Linked DNA regions of Homo sapiens: regions 2 and 3 are each linked to region 1. Evidence: promoter capture Hi-C in human tissues and cell types (Jung and others, 2019). All regions are on one chromosome and are shown on one strand. The core of a region is centred on a gene start or on the middle of the fragment in contact, and the rest is flanking DNA. Distances in the headings are between cores, read along the strand shown.

Evidence for each region. Contacts are between HindIII fragments. The study calls those that stand out against the background at their distance.
Region 2: a contact is called between a fragment that was not itself captured here and the fragment with the promoter of EIF2B5 in region 1, in 3 of the 25 tissues and cell types used here (H1 embryonic stem cells, dorsolateral prefrontal cortex and spleen).
Region 3: a fragment that was not itself captured here is called in contact with the fragment with the promoter of EIF2B5 in region 1 in 3 of the 25 tissues and cell types used here (H1 embryonic stem cells, mesendoderm cells and small bowel).

Annotation. Positions count from the first base shown.
Region 1 is chr3:184,133,670-184,137,433 of GRCh38, reverse strand. EIF2B5 (eukaryotic translation initiation factor 2B subunit epsilon) reads right to left here and starts at 2,076. Exons shown (of 16, transcript NM_003907.3): 1 at 1,854-2,076; 2 at 698-822. The coding sequence starts at 2,048. It overlaps EIF2B5-DT (EIF2B5 divergent transcript), which reads left to right and starts at 2,173. Exons shown (of 2, transcript NR_183721.1): 1 at 2,173-2,898; 2 at 3,156-3,764. RefSeq lists enhancers at 1,727-1,796, 2,117-2,176, 3,046-3,687 and a silencer at 1,867-1,976. The HindIII fragment of the contact is 14,690 bases long and covers 1-3,764 here.
Region 2 is chr3:184,368,425-184,371,828 of GRCh38, reverse strand. POLR2H (RNA polymerase II, I and III subunit H) reads right to left here. Exons shown (of 6, transcript NM_006232.5): 6 at 3,238-3,404. Among named protein-coding and RNA genes, the nearest start is that of THPO, 8.1 kb to the left of the region's middle. The HindIII fragment of the contact is 4,081 bases long and covers 114-3,404 here.
Region 3 is chr3:184,269,183-184,273,853 of GRCh38, reverse strand. All of the region lies in intron 2 of EEF1AKMT4-ECE2 (EEF1AKMT4-ECE2 readthrough), which reads right to left. Among named protein-coding and RNA genes, the nearest start is that of ECE2, 4.5 kb to the left of the region's middle. The HindIII fragment of the contact is 8,798 bases long and covers 1-4,671 here.

The DNA of each region.
Region 1 (3,764 bases), core at 827-3,326:
GTCTTGTTTTATGGGTTAGGAAACATGGTTATTTCCTCTCCATACCTTGACCCCTTGTCCCTAAACATCAATTTGAACTCAAAATCCTGCTGAAGCCTAGGGTACACAAAGTAGCCTGGGAACACGCTTCACGTCAGCTTTCCCCTTCTGCAATCCATATAACATTTAGGAACTGTCTGATGGAGACCATGCTAATGTCCTAGTCTTTACATCCTGGACTTCCATAAGCAATGCGATTCCCTAGTTTTCAAGATTTCAACAAACATGTAAGTGCTCACTATATGCTTGGGACTGAGCTAGGCAGTGGGAATACAAAGATGACAAGGAGCTCATTTATATCCTTGAAGGTGAGAACAAACAAGATTTAGAAACTCAGTGGGAAAACAAAGATGTTATCATTGTAACTTCCATACTGAAGCCATTAAATAAAAGCAAAGTCCACTGGCACCAAACTTTATAATGAGATTCAGAAAAAACCCAAGTTTATTCTTTAATCTTTGTCACAGAAAACCCAAGACAGACAGATACAAAGTTTCAGCTGCTCACCTCCTGATAAGTGTAGAAAATACCCTTAGAACTTACAATGACATCTAAGTAGACACATTTTTCCCCTCTCACATTTCCCCTTAGTTACATTCATCCTGAAAAAACTGGAAAAAGATGGCGAAACATGGAAAGAAAAGTTGCAGGGCCTTACAGTAAATGTTCTTTGATTTGAGCAGCTTTCCAGCAACAAAAGACAAATGTTTCCTGTACACCTGTGGCAGTCAGGAATTCCAGAGTGTAGTCAATTAATGCCACATTGGCCAGGGGCAAGAGGACCTGAAGGATACAAGATGAAAAAAAACTTGAGGTCTCGAATCCCTTTGGGTACCCCACTGCAACAATTTTCACTCCTCTATTCGTATTTCCAAACAGTGTAATTTTGCTGTATCTTTCCAATTCAAAGATAAACAGGTTCCTGCCTTTGATGTTCATGCCATGCTCTAAGCCTGAGTCTGAGACATTGCAATTTGGGGATGGTAAGTACAGAATCTATGTGCCTTGTATCAGACACAGAGCTGTGACAGAATGGCAGTTCACTGCTGGCAAAGGATAATACTGGAAATCAATCATATTTCCATAAATTTAAGCATTGCTAAGGCCTTCTTCCCCATAAGATTTCCTTCCTTGATCCCTTTCTAAGTGTCAGAGGTTAGCCATCTCCCGTCACTTGTCAAAAATGAACAGCCATTAGGCTTTTTCGAGGGAATTAGAGAGGATTTTCCTTAAATCCAATGCAGTTCCCTCTTTCTGAACTGACTGCTGAACGACCCAGCTGAGTCCAATACCCCATTGTCTAGACAACTCGGGGGCTGATGGCAATCAACCACTAAACCCATTTTGTCCTTTCGACAGATAGCACCGGCTATCATTAGAACCTGGAAGGAAAAAAAAAATACACTGCCTGAGATCTAGCCCGCTCTTTTTAAGGCATATTACCGCCCTTTCAGAGGCAAAAGGTCGTTTCTTTTCACCTAAGCAACCGTCATCGGCAAGGTTAAAAGCGGCGCAGCCTCTTCTAGGGGCACTGAATCCCCGCGTGAAGGCTTCTCTCAAGCGCTGTTTCTACATTTAGCTCTCTTCATTCCTTTCAAACCCGAGGTGGACAGCATTACGAATGCCCAAATCTGCCGGCCACTAACTTGGTCAGCAGTCATCAGGGTTTAGACAGTCCCTCTGCATCCGGTTTTAGGATAACAGCATAGACGCAGGTCCTTCAAGGGCATGCTGTTGTAGTTAGCCGAAATGAGAACTTGCTCCAGCCCTGCCACCCTTCCTGCCCTCTGGCTGCTCGCGTGCGCGGCGCTCACCCGAGGCTGGTCCTTGGAGATGGGGAAGAAGCGGCGATCGAAGCTATCGGCCACCAGAACTGCTTGTAGGGGCGGCGGCGGTTCCTCCTCCGCCCCTCTGGCTCCCCCGCCACCGCTGCCTCCCGGCCCCGCGCCGCTGCGCTTGTTAGCCCGACTAACCACCACACCAGGCGGCGCCACTACAGGGGCCGCCATCTTCTTCTCTCACGGTCACCACTTCCGCAAGGAAGCTGCCACCGCACGCAGTAGGGGACAAAAAGGATCCAGCACTTGAAATGCGATGGACTAATTAACGAAGGGAAGGAGACGAGGAGGGAGCAGTGCGCATGCGTCTTCCCCGGGAGCCCACAGGGGTCTGAGGTTGATCCCGGAGGCGCGAGGAGTCGGTACGGGTCACGGTTGTCCCGGCCCCTGAGGCGCAGGGTAGGAGTGGGGTCCCATAGATGTCAGACTCGGTCTGCAAGTATCGTCGGCCTTCATTTGTAGGTGAACAAGCCGAGATTCTTGTGGCGTGATAGGACTTGTGGTCGCCACGAAGGGGCCAGCTCCATCGGGAATCTGTAATCGCCCAGCAGTTTCCCCGCCCCGCGCATGTGAAATATGTAGCCCTCCGTATTCATTCTAGAAACTTCTGGGAACCCAGCGCCTTGGGGAGATAGAACCGAGCCAGATGTTCCCCCGCTGCGAGGAACTCAGAACCTGCATAAATAGAGAAGGTGGCAGGCATATAGTAGGGAGACCAGTAATTCCATTGAGCGCTGATTTTGGGCCAGGCACGATACAAGCATTATCTCTGCAAAACATCTTATTCATTCGTTCAGCAAACGTTTCTTGAACTCTCAGAAGGATGAAGGAAGTTTACCCAGCTAGTAAGTGGAAGAACTGGTATTGGAACCCGATCTGTCTGACTGCAGAGTTCCACAATCTTGCTGCCAAGTTATGTGGGGATAACAATGACTATTTTATGTCATCTATTCATTCTTCCAGCCTATCAGCCTCCTGTGTCTTAAGCAGAGTGGAGACGGGGGTGGATCCAGGCGCACCAGTAAGTTGTACTGGAGTTAAGCAGTAAGCTTTCTGGGCAGAGGAAAGTGCGGGCGTAAAGGTCCAAGGCTTGAAAAGGCGCAGCAGCACCTTTTTCTCTTTGGGGAAAGAAGCGGTGGCTGCGGGGAATAAACCAACTCTGTAGAGGGGCGGGGCCGTGGGAAAGCGGTGGAACGGGGCAGGAAGGCTGGGCGTCATTTGGGAGGCAAGGAACTTTTCTGTAAGGCATAGCGCCCTTTCTGCACGGGACCTGTCCAGGTTCCACGCCACAGGCTTCTGCAGTTCCTGCAAACTGTTCCCATCCCGCCCCGCGTTGCACGTCGGGATTTGGAGTTCGCGATGCTGAGAGCTGTTTCCACGTGGCGATTCCGACTTGACCCGTCGTGCTCCGGCGCCCGCCTAGGGGGACCGAGGAGTTTGTCATTTCTTGCCTCGTTAGGGTGCGGAACGAAAACCATTTGATTTATCCTAGAAAAGGAAAGGCTGAAGCCAACTAAGTAAAAGTTTTCCATTAAATGAATGCACGTTGTAGAAAAGGAATGTTCAACTGCCCTACAAATCCAGAGGTAGAAATGGGGGAGGGGAGAAGGAATTAAATAGGACACACACACACACACACAAACACACACACACACACACTCTTGGGGGGGTGTTTGGGTATGGAAAGTAGGTCCGATTGCAGAATTTATTTTAAATGATTCCCGCAACCTTGGGAAGTTGGGAAGTGGTGAATCCGCTGCCGAAAGGCATTTGTGCTTATGGTAAATCCAGGTCTTAAAATTCTGTAGACTGGTAGCTATATGGATATGATTTTAATAGACGAGTTTCAGGAAGACTCTCTCAAACTGTTTTTTGTTGTTGTTGTTT
Region 2 (3,404 bases), core at 905-3,404, 230 kb before region 1:
TGTAGACAGTTCAGTAAAGACAGGACCTGGATGTGACAGCTGAGCAAACAGCTAGAGCTTTGGCAGCTCAGCAGGAGGCTTTGCCAGGCATGGACGCCTGCCTCCCTCCTGTGGAGGTCAGGAGGAAGTGCAGGAAGTGGCATGAGTCAGGCTCCTTGAGCTCACACAGCAGGAGAACAAGTACAAGTCAAGTACAAGTTGAAGGCTCATTTCCCAGTTCCCGCAAATGCATCTAAAAAGCAGCTCTGTGTGACCACCATAAACTCTGCTAGGGGATCTCTAAAAAGGAGTCAGGCTTATGGGGCTTTGCAAATAAGTGCTGCCTTGGTGCTCAGGAAAAGGTTTGTGTTGCACAAAAACACAAATTCCACTGCAAAAATCAACCTGCTACCTCCAGAGGTTCCTGTAGGAAAACTAGTGGAAGCTTCTTCCTCTCCCCGACCCCTGAGGAAGGAAAGGCTACCACGGAGGTAGAGGAGCCAGGAACCCAGAAACCCAAACACTGCCACAAATACCCCAGGGTCACCAAAGGCATTCCAAAGCAGCAGAATGAAAGGCAATGTGCTAGGAACCTCGTGTACTTTACCTTTTGTAACATTCACACAACTCTGTAAGGTAGGTATTATCTTTTCTGTTTTAGAGATGAGGAAACTGAGGCTCAGAGAAGCCAGGTGAGTTATCAGTGGTTACACGCCCTGTGGGCAGGAGAAGAAACACCCTAGTCTGACCTCACTCTAGGGTCCATACTCTCTCCAGTGTGGTACACTGTCCTATATGTCATTTAATGATTCTGTTTACTGGGAAAGACATACAAGTCCTTAAGGAGTAACAGTTAGAGTTTTGAGGCCGGGCGCGGTGGCTCACGCCTGTAATCCCAGCACTTTGGGAGGCCAAGGCAGGCGGATCACAAGGTCAGGAGATCAAGGCCATCCTGGCCAACACGGTGAAACCCTGCCTTTACTAAAAATATGAAAAATTAGCCGAGTGTGGTGGCAAGCGCCTGTAGTCTTGAACCCGGGAGATGGAGGTTGCAGTGAGCCAAGATCGCGCCACTGCACTCCAGCCTGGGCAACAGAGTGAGACTCCATCTCAAAAAAAAAAAAGAGTTCTGAGTAGAAAACCAAAGTTCTTAGTGGAGGTGACCAATTTAGACATCTTCCCATGTCCCTCTCTCCCTTCACGGACAGAATAGTTTTCCTAGAGAAGGAATCAACAAATGCACAAAGCTCAAAAATGTTGTCCAAATCTCAAATGCTGTCAGTTTCTGCATGGAAGAGAAGTAGTTCATTCATACTACAAATTCCAGCATGCAGTCAAGGGAATGTTAAGTGGAAACTAACTTACTGACATATTGAGCTGGGTTAAATTTAATAATCAAATGAAACACTTTATAGCACATGAAAGTGCCAGCACCTAGGACACGATACACCAATAGAACCAGAGAATGATGGGTTCCCAGCACAGACAGATGAGAGACAAGAATGGCAAAACTTTAGGGCCAGGTATGGTGGCTCACACCCAGCACTTTGGGAGGCCGAGGCAGGCGGATCACCTGAGGTCGGGAGTTCGAGACCAGCCTGACCAACATGGAGAAACTCCATCTCTACTAAAAAATACAAAATTAGCTGGGCATGGTGGTGCATCACCTGAGGTTGGGAGTTTGAGACTGGCCTGACCAACATGGAGAAACCTCGTCTCTACTAAAAATACAAAATTAGCTGAGCATGGTGGCACATGCCTGTAATCCCAGCTACTCGGAAGGCTGGGGCAGGAGAATCGCTTGAACCCGGGAGGCAGAAGTTGTGGTGAGCCGAGATCGCGCCATTGCACTCCAGCCTGGACAACAAGAGCGAAACTCCATTTCAAAAAAAAGAAAAAAAGAAATAGAATGTCAAAACTGCAAATGTCACCAGAAACTTCCAGGCATCTGGTATTGGTATGTGACTTACTCCACTTGTGGGCAAATGCGAGTAACTCATGGGCTTCTCCAGTGTGAACTTACCTGCCCTATTACAAATCTAACCCATTCCCAAATCAGTCTGGTTGGTCCCATCCCTTCTTCCCACTAACACAAAAAAACAATTACAACCAGAACACTCCTATCCCTATTCAATGCTCTACCAGTTCTCTTTCTTCTGCTACCCCAAGACCGCCAGGACAGTCTATGATAACCTACACACTATTACTTGTAATTCGTTTGTCTCACTCTCATTTGTCGTTCTCCAACCCCACAAAAAAACCCACCCCATGGAAAGGTTCTAGGATTTCATAAAAATTCATCCCAACTCCCTCCCCCTACTCTACCCATAGTAAGGTAAAAGAAACACCTCTTCCTCCTCCCTGCTGAGGCCATTCATTTTCAACCCATTTCCCTAAATACTATTTCTAACACCTCACATGAAGATCCGAAAATGATGGGGAAGGAAATACCCCAGGTATCCCAGCAGGGGACCAGCTCCCAGGCAAAACCAGATCAAACAGACAACTGTTTAATGCACAGAGAATCTTTTTGGATTGTTACCCTAAACTTCCTAGGGGAAAACAGAACCCCATATGCTTTCCTAGAGACCTCTAATGCCAAGCTGAAGAGCCAGCTCACATGCTGGAGCCCTTATCATAGCCATTTCCTTAATGTTTTTTCTTCCCCTACTCATAAGTTAGTGACTGTAGTCAGGCCGCTACATGGTCCTGGCACTGGCCCTGGCTCTGGCCTGCCAACTTCATTGGTATTGCTGCCCTGTCCACTTCCACTTACCCTCCCTCCCAGGTCACCACTGGAATGTAGAGCAGAGAGCCAGCTCCTCCAGCTGCTTCCAGAACCACCAAGTCCTCTCGTCCTACTCTCTTCATAGTCATCTCCCATGCCTGTAGCTAAAAGCCTCTACCCAAAGCTTCCATAAAAATAATGAACATTTCTAGACTATGCAAGTGACTCATTCAAGTCAGCATGAACTGACTTCCTAAGAGACTGAAAGTGTTGGAAGGACATGAGCAGGGCTCCTTGCCAATTCAAAATTCTGCGCCAAATGGGTGGTATCTTCTGGGCCTGGGGTACCCTCAGGAGCCAAAAGCACAACTCTCTCCCAGACTGAAAACCACACTGGAGGATAAATGTTGAGAACAGTCAGCCAGGAGACTGAGATAACCCTGAACCCAGATACCAAAAGGCTGGAATAGATCCTACATTGACAAGTGATCAGCTGGCTGTGGGCCAGAAACAATACACCACAGACAAACTGGAAAAAACGATTTTACAGTAAATGGACTTTTTACAAAAAGGGGAGGGGCAGTCTGAAAAAGTAAAGTTTAATTTAAAAATCATATACATAAAGCTTCTGATTCATTTTCAGCTCTCCCACTGTGTCTTTCACAGGCGAGTCAGTTTCCCATTGAGTGGAGGCCAG
Region 3 (4,671 bases), core at 1,087-3,586, 140 kb before region 1:
CTACTTCAGGCCACACACGGTGGCTCATGCCTGTAATCCCAGCACTTTGGGAGGCCGAGGTGGGTGGATCACCTGAGGTCAGGAGGTCAAGACCAGCCAGGCCAACATGATAAAACCCTGTCTCTACTAAAAATACAAAAACTTAGCTGGGTGTGGTGGCACGCACCTGTAATCCCAGCTACTCGGGAGGCTGAGACAGGAGAATTGCTTGAACCAGGAGGTGGAGGTTGCATTGAGCCGAGATCGCGCCACTGCACTCCAGCCTGGGCAACAAGAGCAAAACTCTGTCTCAAAAAAAAAAAAAAAAAAGACTAATACCTACTTCAAAGGCTAGTTGTGAGAATTAAATGAAATAGTACTTGTAAAGTATATGGGACAGTGCATGACACATAATGGGCAATGTGTTTTGTTTGTTTGTTTGTTTGTTTGTTTGTTTTGAGACGAAGTCTCGCTCTGTCGCCAGGCTGGAGTGCAGTGGCACGATTTTGGCTCACTGCAACCTCCGCCTCCTGGGTTCAAGCGATTCTCCTGCCTCAGCCTCCTGAGTAGCTGGGACTACACGCACGCACCACCACACCTAGCTAATTTCTGTATTTTTAGTAGAGACGGGATTTCACCATGTTGGCCGGGCTGGTCTTCAATGCCTGACCTCAAGTGATCCACTCACCTTGGCCTCCCAAAGTGCTGGGATTACAGATGTGAGCCACTGCGCCTGGCTTACAGCATTATAATCTTATGAAACCACTGTTATTATACATGCAGTCCATCATTGACATAAAGGTTGTTATGTGGTGCATGATTGCATAATGAAAGCTACTACGTATGGGCCACCTGGCAACAGGATCATTAGAAATATTCCCAGGGTCACTGCAACAGCATACTACAAATAGCAAGTTTAGACAGCACTTTACTATGTGGCAGCCACTGCTCCAAGTGGTTTACATCTTATGCACTCATGACACTTATGAAGCCATTCTACAGATGAGGAAACTGAGACATAGAAACACTCAGAGTTATACAGGTTGTAAGTGGCAGAGCTGGGATTCAAACCCAGGGAGTATGGTTCCTTTCTGGAGTGCAGTTTAGCAATATGAATCAAAAGGTGGCTACACTTCCTCCCTGCATTAGTTGCTAGTGTTTTGCTACATCCCTTCTAGGAAGAATAAGTGGAAATACATAAATTTCCAAGACAGGCAGACTTGGGCTCAAATTTGGGCTCAATTCTTTATCAGCTGTATCATCTTTATCAAGTTACTTGAAAGCTCTGACTGTTAATTTTTCTCATCTATAAAATGGGAATAATCACCCCTGTCTCAGAGAGTTGCTGTGAGAATTAAATGCAACCACATATGATAGAGCCTGTTACCTATTTTTACACTGCTCTCAGATGCACTAGGCTTGGCCTAAATGGGCATTTTCTTTTCAAGTCTCTTTCATGACCCAAATTATTTTTAGACCCGTAACCATCCCCCCCTCCCCTCCCCTCCCCTCCCCTTTCCTTCCTCTCTTCCTTCCTTCCTTCCTTCCTTCCAATTTTTAGAGACAGGGTTTGCTCTATCACCCAGGCTGGCATTATCAGAGCTCCCTGCAGCCTCAACCTCCTATGCTCAAGCGATCCTCCCACCTCAGCCTCCCAAGTAGCTGGGACTACAGGTGCATTCCATCACACCTGGCCTTTTTTTTTTTTTATACAGATGAGGTCTCACTATGTTGCCCAATTTGGTCTCAAACTCCTGAGCTCAAGTAATCCTCCTGCATTGGCCTCCCAAAGTACTGTAGGCCTGAGCCACCACGCCCAGCCCCCCATAACTATTTCCGACTACATGTTAAATACCCTATGTATAAGAGTCTTGGAGGTTGCTCTGTTTTATATTTCTATTTTCTTTCTCTGTATTTTTCATCTTTGACTCTGTTTCTCTCTTATTCTCCTATTTTCTCTCTCTCTTTTCTACTCTTCCTTTCCTACATGGATAATCTTTTTTTGATCTTTTTTCCTACATAGATAATCTTTTTTTTGGTCTTTTTTCCTACATGGATAATCTTTTTTTTTTTTTTTTTTTGGTCTAAATTGATTGTGAATTGAGAGGGAATGGACAATGGCTTGTGTGTTAAATTTACAAACACAATGTAGTCATGAAGATAACAAGAAACATCGATGAGGCCCAGTGTGGTGCTCATGCCTGTAATCCCAGCACTTTGGGAGGCTAAGGTGAGCGGATCACCTGAGGTCAGGAGTTTGAGACCAACCTGGCCAACATGGTGAAACCTAGTCTCTACTAAAAATACAAAAATTAGCCGGGCGTGGTGACGGGTGCCTGTAATCCCAGCTACGCCAGAGGCTGAGGCAGGAGAATTGCTTGAATCTGGGAGATGGAGGTTGCAGTGAGCTAAGATGGCGCCACTGCACAGCAGCCTGGGCGATAGAGCAAGACTCCATCTCAAAAACAAAAGAAACATCAAAGTCCAGTATAGATAAAGATGGAAGATATGAACACTCATACATTGCTGGTAGCTTAGAAGTTGATACAACCTTTTTGGCAATATGAATCAAAAGGTATGAAAGTGTGCATACTCTTTGACCCAGAAAATTTACTTCTAGGAAATTGTTCCAGGAAATAATCATTATCCATGGGATAGTTTTATCAATTAGCTTTTGTTGTGTAACAAATCATCTCAAACTGGATTAAAATAACAAACATTGATTATTTCTCATGTTCTGTGATTTTTTGGGATTGGCCAGCTCAGCAGGAGCTGGATGGTTTAGCATGGTCTAGAATGGCTTCATTTACATTTTTGGGCTTCAGCTGGGATGCCTGAACAGTGTCTCTGTGTATTATCTCCTCTTCCAGTAGGCTTGCCCAGGCTTCTTCATATGGTGGCCTTAAGATTCTCAGCAACAAAGAAGGGGCAAGCCCCAGTACATAAACACTTTTTTTTTTTTTTTTGAGATGGAGTCTTGCTCTGTCGCCCAGGCTGGAGTGCAGTGGCGCGACCTCGGCTCACTGCAAGCTCCGCCTCCTGGGTTCACACCATTCTCCTGCCTCAGCCTCTGGAGTAGCTAGGACTACAGGCGCCCGCCACCACGCCCGGCTAATTTTTTGTATTTTTAGTAGAGACGGGGTTTCACCATGTTAGCCAGGATGGTCTCGATCTTCTGACCTCGTGATCCACCAGCCTTGGCCTCCCAAAGTGCTGGGATTACAAGCGTGAGCCACTGCGCCCGGCCATAAACACTTTTTTTTTTTTGACACAGAGTTTCGCTCTTGTTGCCCAGGCTGGAGTGCAATGGTGCGATCTTGGCTCACCGCAACCTCTGCCTCCGGGTTCAGGTGATTGTCCTGTGTCAGCCTCCCGAGTAGCTGGGATTACAGGCATGTGCTACCATTCCTAATTTTGTATTTTTAGTAGAGACAGAGTTTGTCCATGTTGGCCAGGCTGGTCTCGAACTCCTGACCTCAGGTGATCCACCCGCCTTGGCCTCCTAAAGTGCTGGGATTACAGGGGTGAGCCAAAGTGCCTGGCCATAAACACTTTTTTCAAGCCTCTGCTTGCAACACATTTACCAACGTCCACATTGGGCAAAGCAAGTCACATGATCAAGCCCATTCAGGGCTGGAGAAATAGATGCTACTTCTTGATTGGAGGAGGTACAAAATAATGTGGCCATTTTTTTCCTACGACATTTGTTCATCACAGCACTATTTATAATCGTAAACAAAAAATTAGGAGGGAATTCAATGTTCAAGAGTAGAGGGCTTGTTGAATTAAACATCCATATGATGAGATGCTATGCAACATTTACAAATGATAGACAAGAAGAGTTTATGCTGTGGGAAAATGTTCCCCACATACAGTTAAGCGGAGGAGAAAAAGGGTTACAAAATCTCATTTTTGTTAAGCAGAAGGTATAAAAGCATAGGTTAAAAAAAAAATTGGAATTGCCAGGCACAGTGGCTCATGCCTGTAATACCAGCACTTTGGGAGGCCAAGGCAGGAGGATTGCTTGAGCTCAGGAGCTCGAGACCTGGGCAACATAGTGAGACCTCATCTCTATTAAAAATTTTTAAAAAAAATTAGCTGGGCATGATGGTATGCACCTGTAGTCCCAGCTACTCAGGGGGCTGAGGAGGGAGGATCACTTTAGCCTGGAAAATTGAGGGTGCAGTGAGCTATGATTGTGCCACTGCACTCCAGAAGGGATGGCAGAGTGAGACCCTATCTCAAAAATCAAACAAGGCCGGGCGTGGTGTCTCATGCCTGTAATCCCAGCACTTTGGGAGGCCGAGGCGGGCAGATCACGAGGTCAGGAGCTCGAGACCAGCCTGGCCCACATAGTGAAACCCCGTCTCTACTAAAAATACAAAAAATTAGCCAGGCACCTGTAATCCTAGCTACTCGGGAGGCTGAGGCAGGAGAATGGCGTGAACCCGGAAGGCAGAGGTTGCAGTGAGCCAAGATCACGCCACTGTACTCCAGCCTGGGCGACAGAGCGAGACTCTGCCTTAAAAAAAAAAAAGAAAACAAGAAAAACAAACCAACCAAACAAAAAAAGCAAAAAAGATTAGGAGTACATACAACAAAATATTAATTATAAATATATCTAGTGATGGCATTATTTTTTCTTTATGTTTTTCTGTATAATAATAACATTTCTATAGTCCAACATTTACC